Regions from separate parts of the Homo sapiens genome. Here region 2 is linked to region 1. Evidence: promoter capture Hi-C in human tissues and cell types (Jung and others, 2019). All regions are on one chromosome and are shown on one strand. Each heading gives the region's core, a stretch centred on a gene start or on the middle of the fragment in contact. The rest is flanking DNA. Distances are from core to core; before and after follow the strand shown.

Region 1 (3,552 bases), core at 130-2,629:
AGATGGGAGGATCATCTGAGCCCAGGAGGTCGAGGCTGCAGTGGGCCGTGATCGTGCCACTGCAGTCCAGCCTGGGCAATAGAGACTCTGTCTCAAAAAATAATAATATGAATTAACTCATCAGTGCCACATGAAAAATACTCATCGTTTCTAATGTGACTCAAAGATCTTCAACATCAAATAAAAACAAAACTAATGTAAGCCCTATCATTTCTGCAATTTAACTGCAGGCTGAGAAACTACAGCTTAGCCACTGAAGTTTATGGCCTCAAAGTCATGTCACATTAGGGAAGACATCAGATGACTAATCAAAAGCCAGCCTCACAATGACAGGTTTCTTCCATTCACATCGTGTTCCTATATAGAGCTTTCATCCTTCCTCTTGAATGGGTCCGATGTTCCACCACGAGGCTTTTTGAATTAAGGAAAAAGTTGAACATCTCTGTCTGGATCATCTTTGTCATATTTTCTAATTATTTAGATTTTGCCAGTTTAATGATAGACGATTGATGGGAAAACTTAAGCTAATGTCTGTTCTGATTGAACCTATAAATTCTGGGGTTGAAGAGGCTGACTAAAATTCCAGACCAAATGTCTCTGTACTCAAAGCTCTGATATAAGCATAGGCTCATCCTCACTCCTACACAACTGGGCTGAAATCTGACTTCTACAGGACAAAATATAAAACAAGATGTACCTTCCTGTAGTCTACCTACCTTGATTAGGAAGGAAGGCTCCCATGGAAGCTTTTAACTTACAAGGACGGACATGTCTGGGCCTGGCTGGAAGAAAGTTGTGGAGTGTGACTTCATCTTAATATTAAAAAGGCAGTGTGAAAGGTCAGGAGGCCTCCTCTTGCCTCCCAAGCCTAATCTAGGGAAGCTGCGGGAGAAGATGGGCAGGGGGCGCAGAATTCGGTCACTGCAGTGGGCTGGAGGCCTAGGATGCTTTGGTCCCAAAACCAGAACATCACGGGCAAACGGGAAGGAGCTGGCCACCCTGGCTGGTTGCCTATAGCAACTCGCACTGTGGGCTCTGGTCCATGCAGACACAACCCAGTCTCCAGCTGGGAGTGGAGTGGGGGTTCCCCAGGGACTCTCGCTTCGCCTCTTCTTCCCCAGGAGCCTCGGGAAAGGCCTCCCTGGCTCCCTAGAGGCACCGACCCCGCGGACCCCGCGGCTTCCGCCACGTCCGCCCCTCCTACATCCTCATCCCGCTCCACCGACCGCGACCGGCCCCCGCCTCTACGACCCGGCTACCCTGCCTAGGGGCCCCGGCCCAGCTCTGACAGCACCCGCGAACCGCCCTGACCCGACAGGCCTCGATACCACCCACCCGCGGCAGCCCTCACGCGCATGCGCACCGCGTCCCTTCGCACTGCGCCACGCCACGCCCACTGGCGCCACGCCCCTTACGCCACGCGCCGCGCCGCTGCGTCGCGCACGCCCTGTGGGCCCCGCCCAACTCACGACCCACCCATGCCACGCCCCTGAGCGTGCGGCCGCCTGGGCAGGCGCAGAGCTGGAGTTCAGCGGCCGCGACCCGCCTCTTCCAGAATAGAGGGTAGCGAGGGGACTACAAGCCCCAGCTGTCCACCCCCGCAGTCGCCGATTCCTCGCTTGCGCTCGCGGCGGCTCCGCGGCCCGGTTCTCGAGAGCCACAGATGCGCCCGCGTCGCTGGGGTCTCCCGTGTGGGAACGTCCTCGGCAGGCCGCGGGTTTGAGAGGCATCGCCGGCGTGACGAATGCAACCAGCGTGGCCCCAAATGAGTCGGCGGCCGCCGCAGGTTGACGTAGAGCCGCAGCGCTCCCCGGGGCCGTCACCCTCAGCACTTTCCCTTCTTTATTTGTTGGGGGCCGCGGGGGCTGGAACCCAGAAGCGCAAGTGTGGGGCGCGTCCTCGTGGCGTCCCTGGCGCTCCGAGGCCGAAACCCGGATGCTGAGGGGAGGCCGTGAGCTCGGAAAGGCACCGCGGGGCCGGCATTAGGGCTGAGCTAGCTCTGTACCCTCTGGTGGGACTTTCGGTCTCTCTGGGCCTCGCCATTCTCTTTCTTTTTCTTGCTTTTTTTTTTTTTTTTTTTTTTTTGGAGACGGAGTCTTGCTCTGTTGCCCAGGCTGGAGTGCAGTGGGACAGTCTGGGCTCAGTGCAACCTTTGCCTCCTGGGTTCAAGCGATTTTCCCGCCTCAGCCTCCCCAGTAGCTGGAACTACAGGTGCCCGCTATCACGTCCGGCTAATTTTTGTTATTTTTAGTAGAGATGGGGTTTCACCATGTTGGCCAGGCTGGTCTCGAACTCCTGACCTCAAGTGATCCGCCCGCCTTGGCCTCCCAAAGTGCTGGGATTACAGGCGTGGGCCACCGCGCCCGGCTTTTTTTTTTTTAATACGGGTTTTCACCCTGTTACCCAGGCTGGTCTCGAACTCCTGCGCTCAGGTGATCCACCCCCCCGCACCCCGGTCTCCCACAGTGCTGGAATTACAGGCGTGAGCCACGGCGCCCGGCCTGTTATTTTGAAGTCAAGCTATTTTACCATCCTCTGGATTTTCGTCATCCTAATTCTCCTTCCCAGTCTCAAGGAAAGACAGGCACATTTTCTTGATGACTTCAGCATTTGTAACCCCTTGTTGGCTCTCCTTAGAGGACATTAACTCTGAACCTTTCAACTTCGAGGATCTCTTTAGCCCTTCCTTATTTGTTCACTCTCCTGGATCATGAATTCTCCAAATTTGTCCTTTGAACCCAGTGCCCATATCCACCCTCACCTGAACCCATTCTTGAATAAAATGCATTCCTACCATGACTGTTCTCAAAGTTTGAAGTTGAGAATACCGATGCGCCACTCCTGCTTCAATGCTTGAGAAGTCGTGGGCTTTCTTCCATGTGCCTTTTGACTGGGCGCCTATCTCCCGACAGCCTGAGGTGGTGTAGCATAGGGGCGAAGGTGGTCTGTGCTTGAATCCCAAAACCCTCACTAGCGTGGGACCTGTGTCAACTACTTGACCTCTTTTGTAAAACGGAGACAATTACAGCACATCTTTTTTTATTATTATTACTTGACACGAAGTCTCGCTCTGTCATCCAGACTGGAGTGCAGTGGTGCGATCTCGGCTCACTGCAACTTATGCTTCCTGGGTTCAAGCGATTCTCGTGCCTCAGTCTACAGAGTAGCTGGGACTACAGGCACACACCACCACGCCCGGCTAATTTTTTTTTTTTTTTTTTTTTTTGTATTTTTAGTAGAGACAGGGTTTCGTCATGTTAGCCAATTTTTGTATTTTTAGTAGAGACGGGGTTTCACCATGTTGGCCAGGCTGGTCTTGAACTCCTGACCTCAGGTGATCCACCTACTTCGGCCTCCCAAAGTGCAGGGATTACAGGCGTGAGCCACCGCGCCCCACCTACAGCACATCTTAACAGAATTTTAGGGATCAAATGAGTTCCTTTGGATACTGTGCCTGTTTTTGACTGAACAGCTGTCTTCTGACATCCTGAGTGGCTTCTTTAGCTTAGTTGTCACCTCTTCTATAGCCTCATCCTGCCTCATGACAAAACT
Region 2 (3,556 bases), core at 993-3,492, 270 kb after region 1:
GATGCAAATTAAATGTATTTATAAGCCCAAGGCCTGGGGTAGAAACATCCTAAGAATATCACAAATGTACAGTTTACTGCCTGAATTATTGGAAGCAAAATAGCTGTATTATGTAGATCTTTCTGAATAGCAGAAGCTTGTCAAAGATTTCTGCTTGTCACAGAAAAGCAGCTTTTGGAATTCATTATGTTCTATAAGAATGTATGGTTTTCAGGCCAGGCGTGGTGGCTCATGTCTATAATCCCAGCACTTTGGGAGGCCGAGGCAGGCGGATCACCTGGGATCGGGAGTTCGAGACCAGCCTGACCAACATGGAGAAACCCTGTCTCTACTAAAAATACAAAATTAGCCAGGCGTGGTGGCGCATGCCTGTAATCCCAGTTACTTGGGAGGCTGAGGCAGGAGAATTGCTTGAACCCGGGAGGCAGAGGTTGTGGTGAGCCGAGATGGCATCATTGCACTCCAGACTGGGCAACAACAGTGAAACTCCATCTCAAAAAAAAAAAAAAAGAAGTATGTTTTTCAAAAATTACTTCTGAAGGACTAAAGCTCTGTAGTTGATGAAACTATAAAATGTCTATGTATTTGTATGGTGATAGAAACTATACAACACTTTATACCGTTAAATACACATATGAAATTAACATCTTCCTGGTTTCAGATTTCCATAAAATTTATCCTTTTTGTACAATTTGGCAAGGCTAACAGCTATAGAAAACATATTAACCAACCAACCATTGCTTCATTAGAAACTGCACCAAATCCAATGTCAAAAACATTACTTTATTTTTCTAGGATGAAATGTCCTATTACGTACAAAAGAATTGCTGTTTAGAATTTGCCACAATTTGTTAAAAACATAGCAATCTATTGCCTACAGGTAGGAAAGTTCTTGCTGCAACAAATTTTAAATGATTAAGCCCATATATATTTATATATATGAATAAATAGTACAGAAATACTGTGACGTGATGAGATGCAGAATAATTTTATAACTCATTAAAATGTAGAATTCTTGCATCAGCACAGTGCATACAATATGTAACATTTTTTAAAAAAGTAAAAGGACAAAATAACCCATATTTAACTACTTCCATCTTAATACTTTAAGCAAAAATTTTTTCATGTTTTCATATTGAGCGATTAGTCTTTAGTTTGTAAGCATAAGTTTAAGTGACATCTTTATGTACAAAAAGGAATGGGCTTCATTAGATAAAATTAACCCAGAATAACCTGTACACCTGAGCCTGTAATAAGAAAGAATCGGGAACTGTAGCAACATCTTTCTTTTAAGAAACTGAGGTCTGGGAAAGGTTTTGCATAGCAGGGAAACATTAAAAGGAAAGAAACTTTGAAAAACAATAATTAGATAAATTCCAGAAGTTGGTAGGACAAAGCTAATATGAGTTAGTGCAAAATCTAGTAAAAATTTTTGCAAAGCTGCATAATCCAACTATGGCAGATTTTATAGAAGCTATTACCACAATGCAGTGATACAACGTGTAAGAACACTGAAAGGAAAAACATGCAAAATACATCTTCCTCTGTGGTTTCCATTTTCTCGCTACTGTTTACACTACTTTTCCTTACGTGGAAGAAACAAACAAACCAACAAACAGAAAACAAACCCAATCAACAAATAACACAGAGGATGAGGTCATCTAAAAAATGCCCTTCATAAAATATAAGTAGCTGTGTGTAATTGGTAATTTGCCTGGTATCACAGAATGTACAGATGAAGGCAATGTGTATCTTGTCGCATTACCGTTCTCGTTAGTATGATCAACTGATGCAACAGGATTAGCACCCCTGAAGATTTTTCTCTGACGTGATGACAATGGACTGGGAATGATAAAACGAGGGGCCACTGCTGTCCTGGAGAAATCCAGGCACAATTAGACTCTTCTGCCTTTCATGACCTTGCAGGCCTCCCTCCCCACAAAGGCTTACAGATAATCATTAGCGCACATTCAAAGACACCTCTGTCTGTGGGAGAAAAATTATCTCCATTTATTTTGTTTCATATACATCCATAGTTGAATTTTAATACAAAAGAAAAAAATTAGAATCTGACAAATGTTTACAAACAAGATACCTTCAAATAGATTTTACTCATTTTAGCCTGGTGCAGAGTAATTGACAAATTGTACTGTTATATTCAAGGCAACAGAGTCTGTAGTCCAGGACCACTTAGCCCAACCTTTATGCAAGCTTAATTTTAATCTACCATGAACAATAAACTCATTGTTGATTCCCAGTTGTGTGTGTGTGCACATGTGTACATAGCAGCTCCTTTCATAGAAAGAAAAGACATCTAGAGGTCGTCTTGTACTTTTACCTACAGGAATCATGATAAGATACAGATGATTATATGTAACCGGGGCTGGATTTTATAAGAAAAAATAATTAGCTGACAAATGAGGGCAGCAATAAAAAAGCGTCTTTTTTGCAACAATAAATAAATACAGTCAAAAGTTTTCTGTGAGACTCTAAACCAGCTTCTTCACTGAAGAGCAGACGTGGCATTTCCATGGAGTTACACTTGACCCCATAGTATCTTTTTTTCTTGCTTTCTTTTTCTTTTTTTTTCAATAAACAAAGTTTTCTCGCTTCTGCCACAATAGTAAAACCATCTGATCTTGACAAGATAATGGTGTCGTTGACTTTGCTTTTTTCTTGTCCGTTGGACAAAATTGGCCAAGAATATAATTGGACTGTTATGACCAATAAAAACGAAGTTTAGGTCAAGTCTTGTCAGGATAGCCTGACTAAAAACATCTGGCTCCTTAATTTAAAATAGTTCAGACAACCAGATTCTTGCTGTGTTTTATGTTAGGTTAACACGCTGAACTTTAAGAAGCTGTAGACTGCAGTTTGTTGTTATGAGACCTACAGAATATAGAAAAAAGGGAACAATTAAGCACCCTTCATTTTTGAAAACAATGATGCTTTATGCGGATGCCAAGGTCAGTCAGTCTGGGAGAAGCAGCCATGTTCTTTCATTCACCCTTGGCAAGCGAATAGAAAAGAACGATTAAGAAAATTTTAACCTATAATATTAAAACTTTTCACTGTACACTAAACATAATAGCTCACTGGAAAAAGCCAATATTTAAATATATATATATATATATATATATATATATATATATATATTTGTCTAATAAAGATTACAACATTTTCAGCCAACTGGACAAATAGAGGCATTTACAGAAGCATTACCATTGTGGTGAAAGGTGTGTGTGTGTGTGTGTGTGTGTGTGTGTGTGTGTGTTTATTTACATTGATGAGGGGAATATAAAGGGAAAAATTACGCTAAAACAAAAGAAAAAGCAATCTTAAAATCACATTTTTCTATTAAAGTCCAGAAAGTCTCCCTTCTAGTTTCACAGTTTTATTCACAACTTTCATTAGTAAACCAAATTACTGTACAGTTACCAGGACTAAGTCAAAGGACTTTATATTGAAATAGCAGATAAATACAGTATTCCAAGAGTTTACAATTTTTAAATACATTGTTCAACATGGCTGCTAGAGTAAATTTTTTACCACGATA

Evidence for each region. Contacts are between HindIII fragments. The study calls those that stand out against the background at their distance.
Region 2: a contact is called between a fragment that was not itself captured here and the fragment with the promoter of AMZ2 in region 1, in 1 of the 25 tissues and cell types used here (hippocampus).

What each region holds. Positions count from the first base shown.
Region 1 is chr17:68,245,870-68,249,421 of GRCh38, reverse strand. It overlaps AMZ2 (archaelysin family metallopeptidase 2), which reads right to left and starts at 1,379. Exons shown (of 7, transcript NM_016627.5): 1 at 717-1,379. RefSeq lists a silencer at 1,253-1,552 and enhancers at 1,767-2,312, 2,313-2,859. The HindIII fragment of the contact is 21,931 bases long and covers 1-3,552 here.
Region 2 is chr17:67,981,585-67,985,140 of GRCh38, reverse strand. It overlaps BPTF (bromodomain PHD finger transcription factor), which reads right to left. Exons shown (of 28, transcript NM_182641.4): 28 at 763-2,889. The coding sequence ends at 2,853. Among named protein-coding and RNA genes, the nearest start is that of C17orf58, 13 kb to the left of the region's middle. The HindIII fragment of the contact is 8,005 bases long and covers 1-3,556 here.